Linked DNA regions of Homo sapiens: all the other regions are linked to region 2. Evidence: promoter capture Hi-C in 16 types of primary human blood cells and fetal thymus (Javierre and others, 2016). All regions are on one chromosome and are shown on one strand. The core of a region is centred on a gene start or on the middle of the fragment in contact, and the rest is flanking DNA. Distances in the headings are between cores, read along the strand shown.

The links. Contacts are between HindIII fragments. The CHiCAGO score rates a contact against its expected background, and 5 or more counts as called.
Region 1: the fragment with the promoter of TAS2R9 here is called in contact with the fragment with the promoter of TAS2R46 in region 2 in 4 of 17 cell types (total CD4 T cells, naive CD8 T cells, naive B cells and 1 more); the score reaches 7.2 in total CD4 T cells.
Region 3: the fragment with the promoter of PRH2 here is called in contact with the fragment with the promoter of TAS2R46 in region 2 in 2 of 17 cell types (activated CD4 T cells and non-activated CD4 T cells); the score reaches 5.8 in activated CD4 T cells.

What each region holds. Positions count from the first base shown.
Region 1 is chr12:10,808,270-10,813,075 of GRCh38, reverse strand. It overlaps TAS2R9 (taste 2 receptor member 9), which reads left to right and starts at 2,908. Exons shown (of 1, transcript NM_023917.2): 1 at 2,908-3,982. The coding sequence starts at 3,001. The coding sequence ends at 3,939. The HindIII fragment of the contact is 1,377 bases long and covers 2,500-3,876 here.
Region 2 is chr12:11,059,323-11,063,635 of GRCh38, reverse strand. It overlaps TAS2R46 (taste 2 receptor member 46), which reads left to right and starts at 1,342. Exons shown (of 1, transcript NM_176887.2): 1 at 1,342-2,271. The coding sequence starts at 1,342. The coding sequence ends at 2,271. The region is part of intron 1 of PRH1-TAS2R14 (PRH1-TAS2R14 readthrough); the gene reads left to right. The region is part of intron 1 of PRH1-PRR4 (PRH1-PRR4 readthrough); the gene reads left to right. It also overlaps a transcript of PRH1 not described here. The HindIII fragment of the contact is 4,910 bases long and covers 1-2,022 here.
Region 3 is chr12:10,926,232-10,930,650 of GRCh38, reverse strand. PRH2 (proline rich protein HaeIII subfamily 2) reads right to left here and starts at 1,415. Exons shown (of 4, transcript NM_001110213.1): 1 at 1,314-1,415; 2 at 347-382. The coding sequence starts at 1,377. All of the region lies in intron 4 of PRH1-PRR4 (PRH1-PRR4 readthrough), which reads left to right. It also overlaps a transcript of PRH1 not described here. The HindIII fragment of the contact is 3,246 bases long and covers 734-3,979 here.

The DNA.
Region 1 (4,806 bases), core at 1,659-4,158, 250 kb after region 2:
ATGTAAGTAACAAGCACATACCATACCAGCAGTATCTGTAATTTTTTCACTTCAGGAAGCCAAAAATTTTTGTCGTTACAGGTACCTCCTATTGTCATTTACTTTCACCACTAGTCTTTATCTGCCAGATATTTTTGTTATGTCAATTAAAAAGCACATAAATTCCTATATTATATTAACAATATATTTCATACTGCAAGAAAAAGGCATATATATATGGATTCCTTATACATTTCAAATATTTTTATTTCATGCACTTAAAAACATTATTCTGAAATTATAGCATGCACCAGACTGGCAAAGTAGTCCATTGAACAAAAAAGTTCCAGAACCTCGAGTTCAAATGAAGAAAATAAAGTGAACTGTTAGAGAAACAAATGAGAATATATGGCTTCTGCTAATGGTTTACTAGGGATCCCAATGGATATAGTGAAGAGTTTAGAATGGGGTAGGAGATAAAGTCAGCAACTATTCAAAATATAAGTTGTCAGAAAATAGGACAGTATCGCAGTATCCTGTTCTTGATTTATAAATCTGAAGAGTATAGTCATTTCTCTTGATCAGTAATAATCAGTGGCATAACTCAAGGACAAATGCCTGTAAAAGATGTAAGGTTCTAAAGAATGGTAAAAAGTATTTAAACAAAGGAAAGAAAATGAAATTTAAGAAATATCTGCCTAAGTAGGTTTGTGTTTGCTCACTTCTCATAGAAAGACATACAGGAAATGATGTCATAAGTTTCCCAGTATTTCATCTGTTTTCTAGTAGAGACAGAAATAATCAATAAACTAACATTCTAGATTAAAGTGTTTCTGCAATGAAAATAGATGTTAAAGTCTGTCAGCTAGGATCCCTCTTTAACTTCTCAATGCTAAGATAAAATCCAAAGGGCAAATAACACATAAACTCACACACACACACAATACACACAAAAAAAACATATTCAACGGTGTCAAATAAATTGAGATCATTTGGGTTTTATTTATAGCAAGGAAAGATAAAAGAGGGTGGCATTTTAGTAAGTATAGGCCCTTAGGTAACTCTGGTCATATCCTATAGCATATTTTCGTTTACATTTGAATATAGGCATAACTTTCTTAAATTGATCAGTATTCCACACGGCTAAGGAAAAGAAGTGAGGTAGTGGGAAAGACCATGATTCAGAAGGCAAGCTTGGATTCTATATCTGGATTTACCAGGAATTTTTAATATGTCAGTTATTAATCACCCTCCTACATGATATATTTTCATCTTCATCTTTTCTGGACATTACAAATTGATCCCAGAGTAGTTCCATTTCCAAATAATAACCTTGAACCTACTTTATTCCCCTCCACAAAATTTTATCTTTCAAAAAGTTTAATTAAAATAATGAAATATTGCATTCCCTGAGATGTGAACATGGTGCGACCTTGTCTGTCAGTTGCATGCAAATCAATTTCTTTACTCTAGTGAAGTCCTTCTCAGAATATTACCTGTTTTATGGCTTTGGTCATGACAAGCACAGTGTGTATTTTTGAGTTGTATAATCTGATATTTCTTCAGAAACAAAATTCACAGAGAAGCATGAAAGAAACCCCAAATTTCACTGAATAGAATAACAATAGCTATTTACTTTCTCATAAAAATCTGCAAGATTAATTTTTATCTCTTTATTTTGTCTAAAACCCTGAACATATGACACATTATCTCATTAAATACTTTGTATTGTTGTGTTTGTTTGATAAGCAATATTTAATATTGCCTTAAAATTTAATATTAGTTTCAAAATAATATTTCTGGGAACTGTGTATTGCTGTGTGCCTTTTTCTATTATTTCAAATATGTTCTACTATGCCCAATGACATGTTTCAATATGTCCCAATGAAACAGTGTGTTTCCAATGTGTGTATAATTAGCATACTAATATTTATAATACACCTGCTGCCAAAAAATAGAGCTAAGAAAATTCAGAGCATGTATTCTTATCACTCAGTTCAGACTGAAGAGTCTTGTATATCTATCACGCTTTTTAGTTCCAAAAATATCACTTTCTTGCTCTTTGTCCTCCTCACTGTTCAGGCTGATCTGTTTCCATTCTAAAGATAAGTGACCAGTATTTTGACTATTTTTTCTATGTATGGAAGCTACATTCAGGTACAAAGCAAGAACACTCTAAGAAACCCTAACATCTAAACCAGAATTTTCCGTGTCTCATTTGCTGACAACACTACAATGTCATGTTTATTTCCCTCATTGTATCTTCAGTTGAGAAGACAAACACTGCAGAGCTTTTTGAGGATATTGGGAATTACCTAATTAATGTATTTCTCAATGCCCTAGTGAATGGAGTGTCCTTTTGGCCCTCTTAAGTCATATAATGGGGAGAAGGTGAAGTTCGCATATGATAAATTCACCTTAATACTCCTATCTTCCTACACCTTTAGATTCTTTCCTCTACATTCCACCAGTTATGCCATTTAAGCCTCATTTAATGTTAATAATAATTTGTTTAAAGCTTTAGTCAACCAAGCAAGCAAACTGGCCACACAAGCTAACACAGTAAACCTAGAATCTGTAATAGCAATAACTATGTCAATATACTAACAAGGATGGATAGTCATCCAGCAAATTAAATTCTAGCCATATTTTCCAAGTAATTGATACCTTCTTGAAGTTCCTGGTCAACAGCTCAGATTGATAAATCCAAAATATACAGAGCTTAAAATAAGAAAGAGTGTGCAAATTTAAGAAATCAGATCCATTCCCATTTGCATCCTAGAGGCTTTCAGTCATCACTGCACCAAAGGAAATTACTGGCCCCAATCATTGAAGTCTTTAGGCAGCTCTAGCCCAGAGCAGGACTGGCTATCTTCTTCATCTGCATCACAGCTAACAAAAAGGAGAGATAAAGACAACTATATCATGGTCTAAGAGGCAGACAGATACATTGTTCTTCACTGGTCAGCTGAAAGTCAATTCATCATCAGTGATATTCAAAAATCACAAGTCTTTGCTGGCATGCCAAGTGCAATAGAGGCAATATATATTATTTTAATTGCTGGTGAATTGACCATAGGGATTTGGGGAAATGGATTCATTGTACTAGTTAACTGCATTGACTGGCTCAAAAGAAGAGATATTTCCTTGATTGACATCATCCTGATCAGCTTGGCCATCTCCAGAATCTGTCTGCTGTGTGTAATATCATTAGATGGCTTCTTTATGCTGCTCTTTCCAGGTACATATGGCAATAGCGTGCTAGTAAGCATTGTGAATGTTGTCTGGACATTTGCCAATAATTCAAGTCTCTGGTTTACTTCTTGCCTCAGTATCTTCTATTTACTCAAGATAGCCAATATATCGCACCCATTTTTCTTCTGGCTGAAGCTAAAGATCAACAAGGTCATGCTTGCGATTCTTCTGGGGTCCTTTCTTATCTCTTTAATTATTAGTGTTCCAAAGAATGATGATATGTGGTATCACCTTTTCAAAGTCAGTCATGAAGAAAACATTACTTGGAAATTCAAAGTGAGTAAAATTCCAGGTACTTTCAAACAGTTAACCCTGAACCTGGGGGTGATGGTTCCCTTTATCCTTTGCCTGATCTCATTTTTCTTGTTACTTTTCTCCCTAGTTAGACACACCAAGCAGATTCGACTGCATGCTACAGGGTTCAGAGACCCCAGTACAGAGGCCCACATGAGGGCCATAAAGGCAGTGATCATCTTTCTGCTCCTCCTCATCGTGTACTACCCAGTCTTTCTTGTTATGACCTCTAGCGCTCTGATTCCTCAGGGAAAATTAGTGTTGATGATTGGTGACATAGTAACTGTCATTTTCCCATCAAGCCATTCATTCATTCTAATTATGGGAAATAGCAAGTTGAGGGAAGCTTTTCTGAAGATGTTAAGATTTGTGAAGTGTTTCCTTAGAAGAAGAAAGCCTTTTGTTCCATAGAGACCCCTAAAGAGTATCCTGACTACAAGGATGAAAGAAATCAACAAAAGGCATTCTCCCTTCTCTTGTTTGCATTCATTTTCTCTTATATGCTATTGGAAGTCATTAATATCTGTCATGATTCTGAAGATTTGTTTTGTGTTCCTTCACACTTTTGTCTTGTTTAATGGATAATCTAATGTTATCATTGCACCGTATATTCTTTGTCGTTGCAGAAAAAAAAAATGCATCTAAATCCCACACTAACATTTCATCATTTTATGTCATTGACTAAATACAAAGAGGTTCTACTTCTTTTCTGACAAATACTGGCAAAGGCCTTGAACTCAATGAGTAGAAGAATGTCAGGCAAACAGGCTTTGGGGAAAAGATTTTAGAACTCATCAACCCTTGCTATAAAATCAATCATGCAAAACAACTCTCTACTTTGAAATGAAGGCCGGTCCTTATCTTCACCGCCCTTTCCTCTCCATTTCTGGAAGGGTTTGTCTTGATCAAGAAGGGAGAAAAACAATCTTTAATGAGATTCTATCTAAGATGATATATGATGTGGGAAAAGGAGTATAATCTCAAGAATGAAAGTTTGACAGAGAGAGGAGGCACAGTTATGTATAGCAGAACCACCTTGAGAAAGAAGGTTGAGGGTCCCAGTAGTCAGCGTGTTCATGAGTACTCTAGCTGGTGATGGCAATTTTAGAAGTCATTTCCCAAAGATTCCCTGGAATGTTCTCTCTAGCCTTCTAACTCAGAAATCTCTGACATATTTTTTTCCCTCTGCATCATTTTCTTTTCTATTTTGTTTCCAGCAGTAGTTTATAGATAACTAGGTTTCTTTAAGTTATTAAGTTTATGCTTTCCTGTTACACA
Region 2 (4,313 bases), core at 93-2,592:
ATCAGTTATGTTTTTCTGCAAGAGAAAAACCCTCCAAACTACATTAGATGTTTATATCTCACATGTTGTTGGATTTCATTTTTTTTAAGCTGGGTTTGGTGGATGGCTCTGTTTATTTGAAATGGACCAAATTCTGAATCTTGGTAGTAGTTAGAGTTTGGCCAATTTGGTCTGGATCAGGTGGGGGCAATCTGACTTCATTAGTTTCTCACTCTCCTTCTGGGAACAGTGTACTAGCCAGGTGATATTCTCATGGTAAATGGAAAGAGGAAGAATCCCCATTATGGAAGCCATCTGAAATCTCTATGCAAAGTGTAGTAATTTTCTGTTTATCAAAGCAAGTTAAATGGTTGTACTCCAAGTTCAGGGGCAAGGTAGTCAGCCTTCTCAGTGATGGCAGGATACTGCAAGACTATATATCAAAGGGTTGGGTACTCAGGAATTCTTATACAATTGCTAAATGTTTTGTATAGTAATAAATATTTAAACATTAGTCTTGAGAGAAACTTTACCAAAGGCCTAAGAATTAGAGATATGTTTGATAAATAAATATTATTCATGAGCTGAAAGCCCTGAGTGGGAAAATAGGACTAACTTCACCTAGACAACCTCCTGGAAACTCCTTTTTTTATTTTGGAACTGATGAGAAAATAATTTGTTCCATTCGTGAGTGGTGTGCACATGTGTGTGTTTGTGTGTGTATTTATGAGCTTGTGAATAATGAAGTTATACAAACGTATTAGCAGCAACCAGATTCTGAGGTTCTCCAGAAAATCTTAGATATTTTTGATAAAAGCAGTTTGGATTCTGTGTATTTAAATCTGTCATTTAAAAAAGTCCATATAGGTGATGAACTTAATTATGACCAAGCTCCTTTTAAGAATTTAGACATTTACTATATGATCTCTGTATTGGGTTATAAAACTTCCCTAACAACTGAAGTCACTAAAGACAAATGATGGAGAGGTTACACAAGGAAAAATTGCAAACACTGAAAGTGAATATGTCCTTGTTTGCATACTAGCAAATGAGAATTCAGGTTTCATGTCAACTTCAGTATGAATAATTCCAGCCTATAACAAGGACAGACAGTGAATGAATGGGTTAATTTGAGTTGTTTTGAAAATAAGAATATTTTCCATAAAGAGAGCGTTGAACTTACCCATTAGCATGCCATGGTGATTTCTGGCTTGACACTGGTCACAGCAATTAAAAGTAAAAAGAATGTCACAGCACATACACAAATCAGGTGCATATAGAATTTAAGGTCAGGATATTCAAGCAATCACAACCAGTGATATTACACCAGCATTTTAAAAATTTCTTTTTGTCTGTTCAGACATGATAACTTTTCTGCCCATCATTTTTTCCATTCTAATAGTGGTTACATTTGTGATTGGAAATTTTGCTAATGGCTTCATAGCATTGGTAAATTCCATTGAGTGGTTCAAGAGACAAAAGATCTCTTTTGCTGACCAAATTCTCACTGCTCTGGCAGTCTCCAGAGTTGGTTTACTCTGGGTATTAGTATTAAATTGGTATGCAACTGAGTTGAATCCAGCTTTTAACAGTATAGAAGTAAGAATTACTGCTTACAATGTCTGGGCAGTAATCAACCATTTCAGCAACTGGCTTGCTACTAGCCTCAGCATATTTTATTTGCTCAAGATTGCCAATTTCTCCAACCTTATTTTTCTTCACTTAAAGAGGAGAGTTAAGAGTGTTGTTCTGGTGATACTATTGGGGCCTTTGCTATTTTTGGTTTGTCATCTTTTTGTGATAAACATGAATCAGATTATATGGACAAAAGAATATGAAGGAAACATGACTTGGAAGATCAAACTGAGGAGTGCAATGTACCTTTCAAATACAACGGTAACCATCCTAGCAAACTTAGTTCCCTTCACTCTGACCCTGATATCTTTTCTGCTGTTAATCTGTTCTCTGTGTAAACATCTCAAAAAGATGCAGCTCCATGGCAAAGGATCTCAAGATCCCAGCATGAAGGTCCACATAAAAGCTTTGCAAACTGTGACCTCCTTCCTCTTGTTATGTGCCATTTACTTTCTGTCCATAATCATGTCAGTTTGGAGTTTTGAGAGTCTGGAAAACAAACCTGTCTTCATGTTCTGCGAAGCTATTGCATTCAGCTATCCTTCAACCCACCCATTCATCCTGATTTGGGGAAACAAGAAGCTAAAGCAGACTTTTCTTTCAGTTTTGTGGCATGTGAGGTACTGGGTGAAAGGAGAGAAGCCTTCATCTTCATAGATTCACAAGAGCAGCATTGTGTATCTTCTAGCAGAAAACAAACGTGTTATATGAAGCATTTTATATTTCTTACTGTGTTTTCTGTAATGTATGTATATGAATAACTTTCAAGCATGTACCTAGAAAAGTCTTTTACCTAACGTTAGTCTAAAAAAGTGCGTATGTATATATATGTATTTTTGTGTGTATGTTTGTATGAAAAACAAAAGAACATTGACAGTGACATACTCTTTTTTGTTTTTTCACACAAACTGCCAAATTATACAAAATATGACAAAAATTCTTAAGAATTATGAATCCATACCTATTTCATTTATGTATTTTATATTTCATTTGAATAATTTATGATCTATATTTATAATTATTAAGAACTATCAGCTTATCTCAGGAAAGACATTGCTGTTTTCTATTGTTATTTGAACCACACAAATATACCACAGTGTGCTTCGAATTCATTGTTTGAACCTGTAACTTTTTGGATGGTAAGGTCATTCAATTCTAAATCAATAATAAGGATGTGTCTTTGAGGTTTTATTCCATTATGAATTCCTATTTTATGTTTAGTAAAAAGCAATCAGAATTATTGATAGAAAACAATGCACACAATAAAATTTGAGTGACAAGCATATGTAGAGTAAGTTTCAACTATGTCTACCATAAACAGTTCTGAGGAATATTAGATTTAATACAAGCATGTGAATAGCTTAGAAAACAATCTCTTCTATAATAGGGATGAAAAATCATGATTGTGATCTTGATTGCTATTATCAGTTTCCATATGTAGTTAGAAAAGTCATTTCTTCCAGCTTTTGGATTAAAGAAAAGCTTTTTTTTTGAAGTTGAGAGGTGATGTAAACTATTTTAGTATTTTTTTCTAAAGCACTTTTAAGCCCCTGAATTGTTAATTATACCCTTACCTTCCATTTATAAAATTCCTTCTAAACTTCAGGTAACAGAACCCAAATCTTCCTTATTCTAAAAAAAAACTATCAATGTAAAAATAGTATAGAAATTATGGAAAATAAATCAATGAAATTTTTGTAAATGTTAAAATGGCATCTATGAAATCTATGTTTTAATTATAGAATGTGCTTTACAGTTATAATTTTGTTGTCAATGATGAAATGAAAGTGGTTGACATATTCATTAATAGGAAGTTCTATTATGAGATGGAAATGTACAGTCTTGTTCACAGCTAAATTCTACATGACTGTATTAATTTTGGTGTTATGAAATTTTAAAAATGTGATTTAAACCTTAAGATAAATCATCCCCACATGTGATTTATGTGTTTTTTTAAAATCATGTATCTTCCTCAGTACAATGTAAGAACTGTAAAATCAGATCAGAGATGATCTCATCTCTGTCTTGCTTTCTGTTGAATGTAAGATCAGAGAGCAAGATGATCTCATCTCTTTCTTGCTTTCTGTTGACTCCCAGGACCTAGAACCCAGCAACAAGAATAGATGGTCAAAAATGATATTTTAATGAACAAATAAATGGGTGGATAAAATGGGTAAGCTGATGTGGTAAACCAATGAAAGGGAAACTCATCACAAAATCTGCAGTTGCATGAATTCCCCTGTTCTGTTCTCAGGTTAAGGTTACAGGCTTATCCAAGCAGAATCCTTCCGCAGAGGAAAAGTTTGGCTATTCCACAATTTTAGGGGAAATATGACAATAATATAGTCTTGATGCAACTGTATCAGGTGTCTGAATTGGAGACAAGGTAGAACATCAAAATTAGATGGCGCCTATTACAATATTTTTAGAAAGCGTATAAACAACCTTGGTCTATTTGAATATGTATTTTTTTCTATTGTGAATTATATATTTGTATTATGATATTTTCTAGTTGATTATTATTTAAACAAAAATGGCATTTCATTTTAAAAATTGAGTTAGTAACCAGCTACTTTACTAAAATGTTTTTTATGTATTACCTGTTATTAAGGTGATGACATTTATTTAGAAATCAAGTTCAAGACAAAAATGGCAAGGATATGTGGAAATTGAGACAGGAACAAATGTGAAACAATGTG
Region 3 (4,419 bases), core at 166-2,665, 130 kb after region 2:
GAAACAAGAAGAGCTGAGCTCATGCTGGAAAACCCTCCTGTCTTCATATCTCTCTGTCTTCACCACACGGCCGGCCCCTCTCTCCCTGACCTGCCTCTCAACTCCCAACCTCCCCCCTTCCCAAGGCTTCCTAATTAGAACTCCTCTTAATCCACATTAGGGTGGTGAAAAATCAAATTTCTTTACTCATGGTCCCCAGAATCAAGGTTGGGAGAAAACTGTTTATATCTCTGGGGCACTGATATTAGCCAATTCCTGACAAGGATGATAAGAAGACACTGGAGAACTGATCAATTTTTCAGGGAAAAATGGAGACAGAGTTTACTGAGAATTTATTGGGATTTACCTGATATTACCAAGGGAACGTCTTCTTGGCTGACATCTAGAAAAGAAGTACAGGATGATGGGAAAAGTTACTGCATGAATCATTCAGAGCTCATAGTGTTCTACGAGGATAAAGGACCTCTGATCACACCCTGTGCATCCCCTTTGAGATCTCATCAGCCACTCTCTGATGCTACCGGAAGTGGAAGAAGATGTAAGGGAAAGCAGGATTGTTACTACACTGAGCGTCAACCAGGAACTCAACATAGAAGGGCCCCTGTTTGTCCTCTCATGATTCCTTAAGCCTTAGTGCTTATTTAGTTAAAGGGCTCTTGAGTATTTCAATGAAATATTTGGGGATCCTTCTGCCCTCTTTCATCTGTAAATATGTTGTTTATGTTTGCAAGCTTTCTCAACAGGAGCCACCAGACATAGCCACTTAGATACAATCTTACAAATGCCCGTCCCAGCACATTAAAATACTACATGCAGGAGAGAAAAAAATGACAATATTTCACTCTGGTGATTCTCTAACTCTATGTAGACAGAGGCAAGTGTTTACCCAATTCTCTGCCTCAGCAATAGCTCTGACATGTGTTTATCTCCTTCATGGATACTCATCCACTGTCCAGCAAGGCCACCATCATCCCTGTCTACTGGGATCAGTATAGGATCTTCACAGCTGCACTTCCCTGAATCTGTCTTGCATTCTCCATATCCTTCCCAGCAGTCCCATGTCTCTATAAATGCAAATCTCACTCTCTCACTCCCCCGGTACAAATTCTTTATTGGGTTCTATTTGTGCAATCAATAAATTATGAGGTCTTGATGAGGAATGAAGGCACAACAGGTCTTCTGATCCTTGGCATGAGAACTCTTCAGTCCTATCTGTTTTCTCATCCTCCTCTCTTCCCTCCACTTTCCCCCTCTATAGCATTCGCCCGTAAACCCCAATCAGAGTCACAATATCTTCCCCCAATTCGGCTTACCTTCATCTAAGTCCTGAGCTGAGCTGAAGGCCAGCAGGGCCACTGACAGCAGAATCAGAAGCATCTTGCAGAAGGCTCTGGTGTCACTCCCAACTTTATGCTGGGAGAAACGTGTCAGCTCCCTTTATAAAGACAAGCAGGACAATGGCGCATTTGAGCTCCCTACCAGGTGGGCCTCCTCGCCTCAGAGACTGGGTTCTGCTTTGCTTACTTCAGGTCAAGTGTATCCCTCATTTCTTCTGGGACTCTAGCCTAGCAGGAAGGGTTGGGGAGGATGTTGTTTGTGGCTAATTTCTAAAAGGTACAACTATGACTTGGACAAATGTTTTGACGGAACTGTGTCCAAGCAATCAGCACAGTGTCAGGATTGAACTTTAGACATCATTTGTTTTTCAATCTGTTTGGAAAGACTGCTATTCTGCTTTCCACTGTGCTTTTCATTTGTGTGTATGTGAGTTTGTGTGGGTGTGTCAGGGGGTTGGGCAGCAATCCTACAGCTAACAGTGAAGACGGTCAATATGTCTGACTCTTTTGATAGCCTATTTCCATCTCTCATGATGTGTGTGCATGGATATTTGTATATTTAGCTAAATTTTTCATGTAATAGAGATGCTTTCTGCTTATCCGTGAGTTGTGTGAGGACAGCACACTGCTGGGTACACATAGATGACAGAAGGCTGCCCCGCAGCCTCCTCATGCTACAGGAAATTTCCAAACTCTGTGAATCTCACTACACTCAGGCAAGCGTTGGTGCTGTACAATACAGGAAAGCTAAAAAATTTGTATTTTAAAAAATATCTTTAGGGATTATTAAAGCAAAACTGAACACAGAAACCACCAAGGAATTTCTAGACCTAAACAAACTGAAACATGGTTCCCAAAGTGAGCCACACGATGTCATGTAGCTAAGACCTCCACTTTCTCCAGAATATTCTATAGAATTCATCATCTACTTTATTTCTTCTAACAAATACCGTAGTCTTCACCACTAATAACTAAGTGGCCATACTTATATATTCAACTTGATGATTTGTAATGCCTGTTCAAGCCTCAAATGCCTTGATTGGTCTTCTGTTTTTTACTCAGTATTTATGTCACCAGTTTCATCAGAGTTTTCTTTCACAAAGATGATTTTTTCTATGATATTCTAATACTAATTCTTTCTCATTCTCTTTCTTACATTCATTTGTTGATATTTTATATGCTGAGACTACCTTGTCGTTTGTAATTTTCTTCCTATATAGTTTTTTTCTCCCCACATGACTTGTGGGAGATGACATTTATTTAATCTTCTAAGCAATGGTGTATGGTACTCCTCACTATCTTTATTTTCATTTTTGTCTCTACAATTGGACAATAAACTATTAAGTTTCTGAAAAATCCTTCCAGGGTCCTGGATTGGTACTCCTCTTCTCAGCTGCTGATTGCTCTGTGATACCTAGAAATTCCCTGTTCCTCAATTCATAAAATATACTACTCGGTATCACCAGCTGCACTTTCCATTTCAGACCTTGTGTAGGCCTTGTGTAATTTTTCACTTTTTGTGCACGGCTAGTGTTTATTTGAGGATAGCTTGGTTGGAGGCATGGCTGAGAGGCCATGTGACAGAAAATCATAAAGACAAGGCCCTAGACAGATGTGCATGGGTGGATCCTGTACTGTGCATACGAGGGTCTGGTCTGGCCCTTCTGAAGAGTTGCAGATAACAAAACAAGAAGGCTTCCTAATAGATTAGATTTTTCTACAGACAACAATGTTCTCATAAGGGACCCAGGCAGACTGATATTTTCCCTGAAATAAATATAGACATATTTGAAGTGGGAATGCATTCTTAATTGGCAATTCTTCTCTGGCCCTGTGGAAACTGGATCAGTTTTAGCTGGGCTTGATGGGTTGTATCTTAGGCACAGGGTAGGTGCTTAAGCCAAGCAGCTCCCAGTGGGTTACTGGGATTATTTTCTTTGGTTTCACCAGATACTGTTTTCCATTAGACCTGGAGATGAGCAGTCCTGCCTTGGTGATTTCAGGTCAACCATCATGTCAAAAAGGAAGGCCAGAGAAAGGGAACAAAGAGGGGTGCCAGACAGATATTGCCTGATGATGTGGGTAACGGAGAAAGCTGCAAGCCTGGTGAAAGACAGATTTCTCCTTGGCAGCAGAGTACAGGAAAAGAACAGGAAATGCTCCTAAAGGTCGCTCAGCTCAGGTCCCTTCCATGACCTTCTCCAATGTCAACAATCAGCAAAAGAGACTAGCATATCAAGAAAGTATAAATACCAGCTATGCTCTCACCAGCCAAATCAAAAGAAGGGGTGATGGAAGAGCTGAAAGGGACACTGTCTGGGAGTGAGTGTGGGTGAAAGGGAGAAGTAGGACTGCTGCAGGAGCTTGGGCACCTAGAGTGGGTGGCAGCCGTCAACAACACAATTCCCTTCTACTATGGATGTTCACATTCTGAGGTCCTGAAGCATCAGTCTTCAACATATGAAATTTTAGGATTCATCTTTCATAACACATCCCAACTTTTTCTCTGTTACTCACAGGTGTTTACCTAGTGGTTCAAAAATCCTCACTCCCTCCAGGCACTACCCATTAGCTTATCTAATTTCTTCCACCTTCAAAATACATCTCAAATGTGTCCACTTGCATGATCTTTACTAGAAGCTTGTTGTTCGGCCCACAATGCTCTCTCCTGGAGGTCTTTAACAGCCTCGACCTGGTCCTGGTAACATTCTTCCCCCAGTACATCCCATATCAGTTCCCTCACGACAATCAGAGTGATCATTTAAAAGTAGAAATTAGATCATATCACCCTTGTGCTTCAAACCCCTTGTTTTTCCTTCTGGACTTACAATAAGGTCCAAATTTCATGACTCAGCTCTTTCACACCCACATGACTAAATCTTTTTTGAAGACCCGGAAGCTCTCTGAATGGAATATAAAGTAGGATCTTCTTCAACTTCACCTTGCTCTAGTTTGCCTGGAATACTGAAGGATGGTTTGCCAGGAAAGATGAACATTGGCAGAGGGGATAAACTTCTCCGAGAGTGAGTGAATTGCATTGAGTTGCTTGTCTGGCAGTTTATGTACATTGGAAGAATTATTG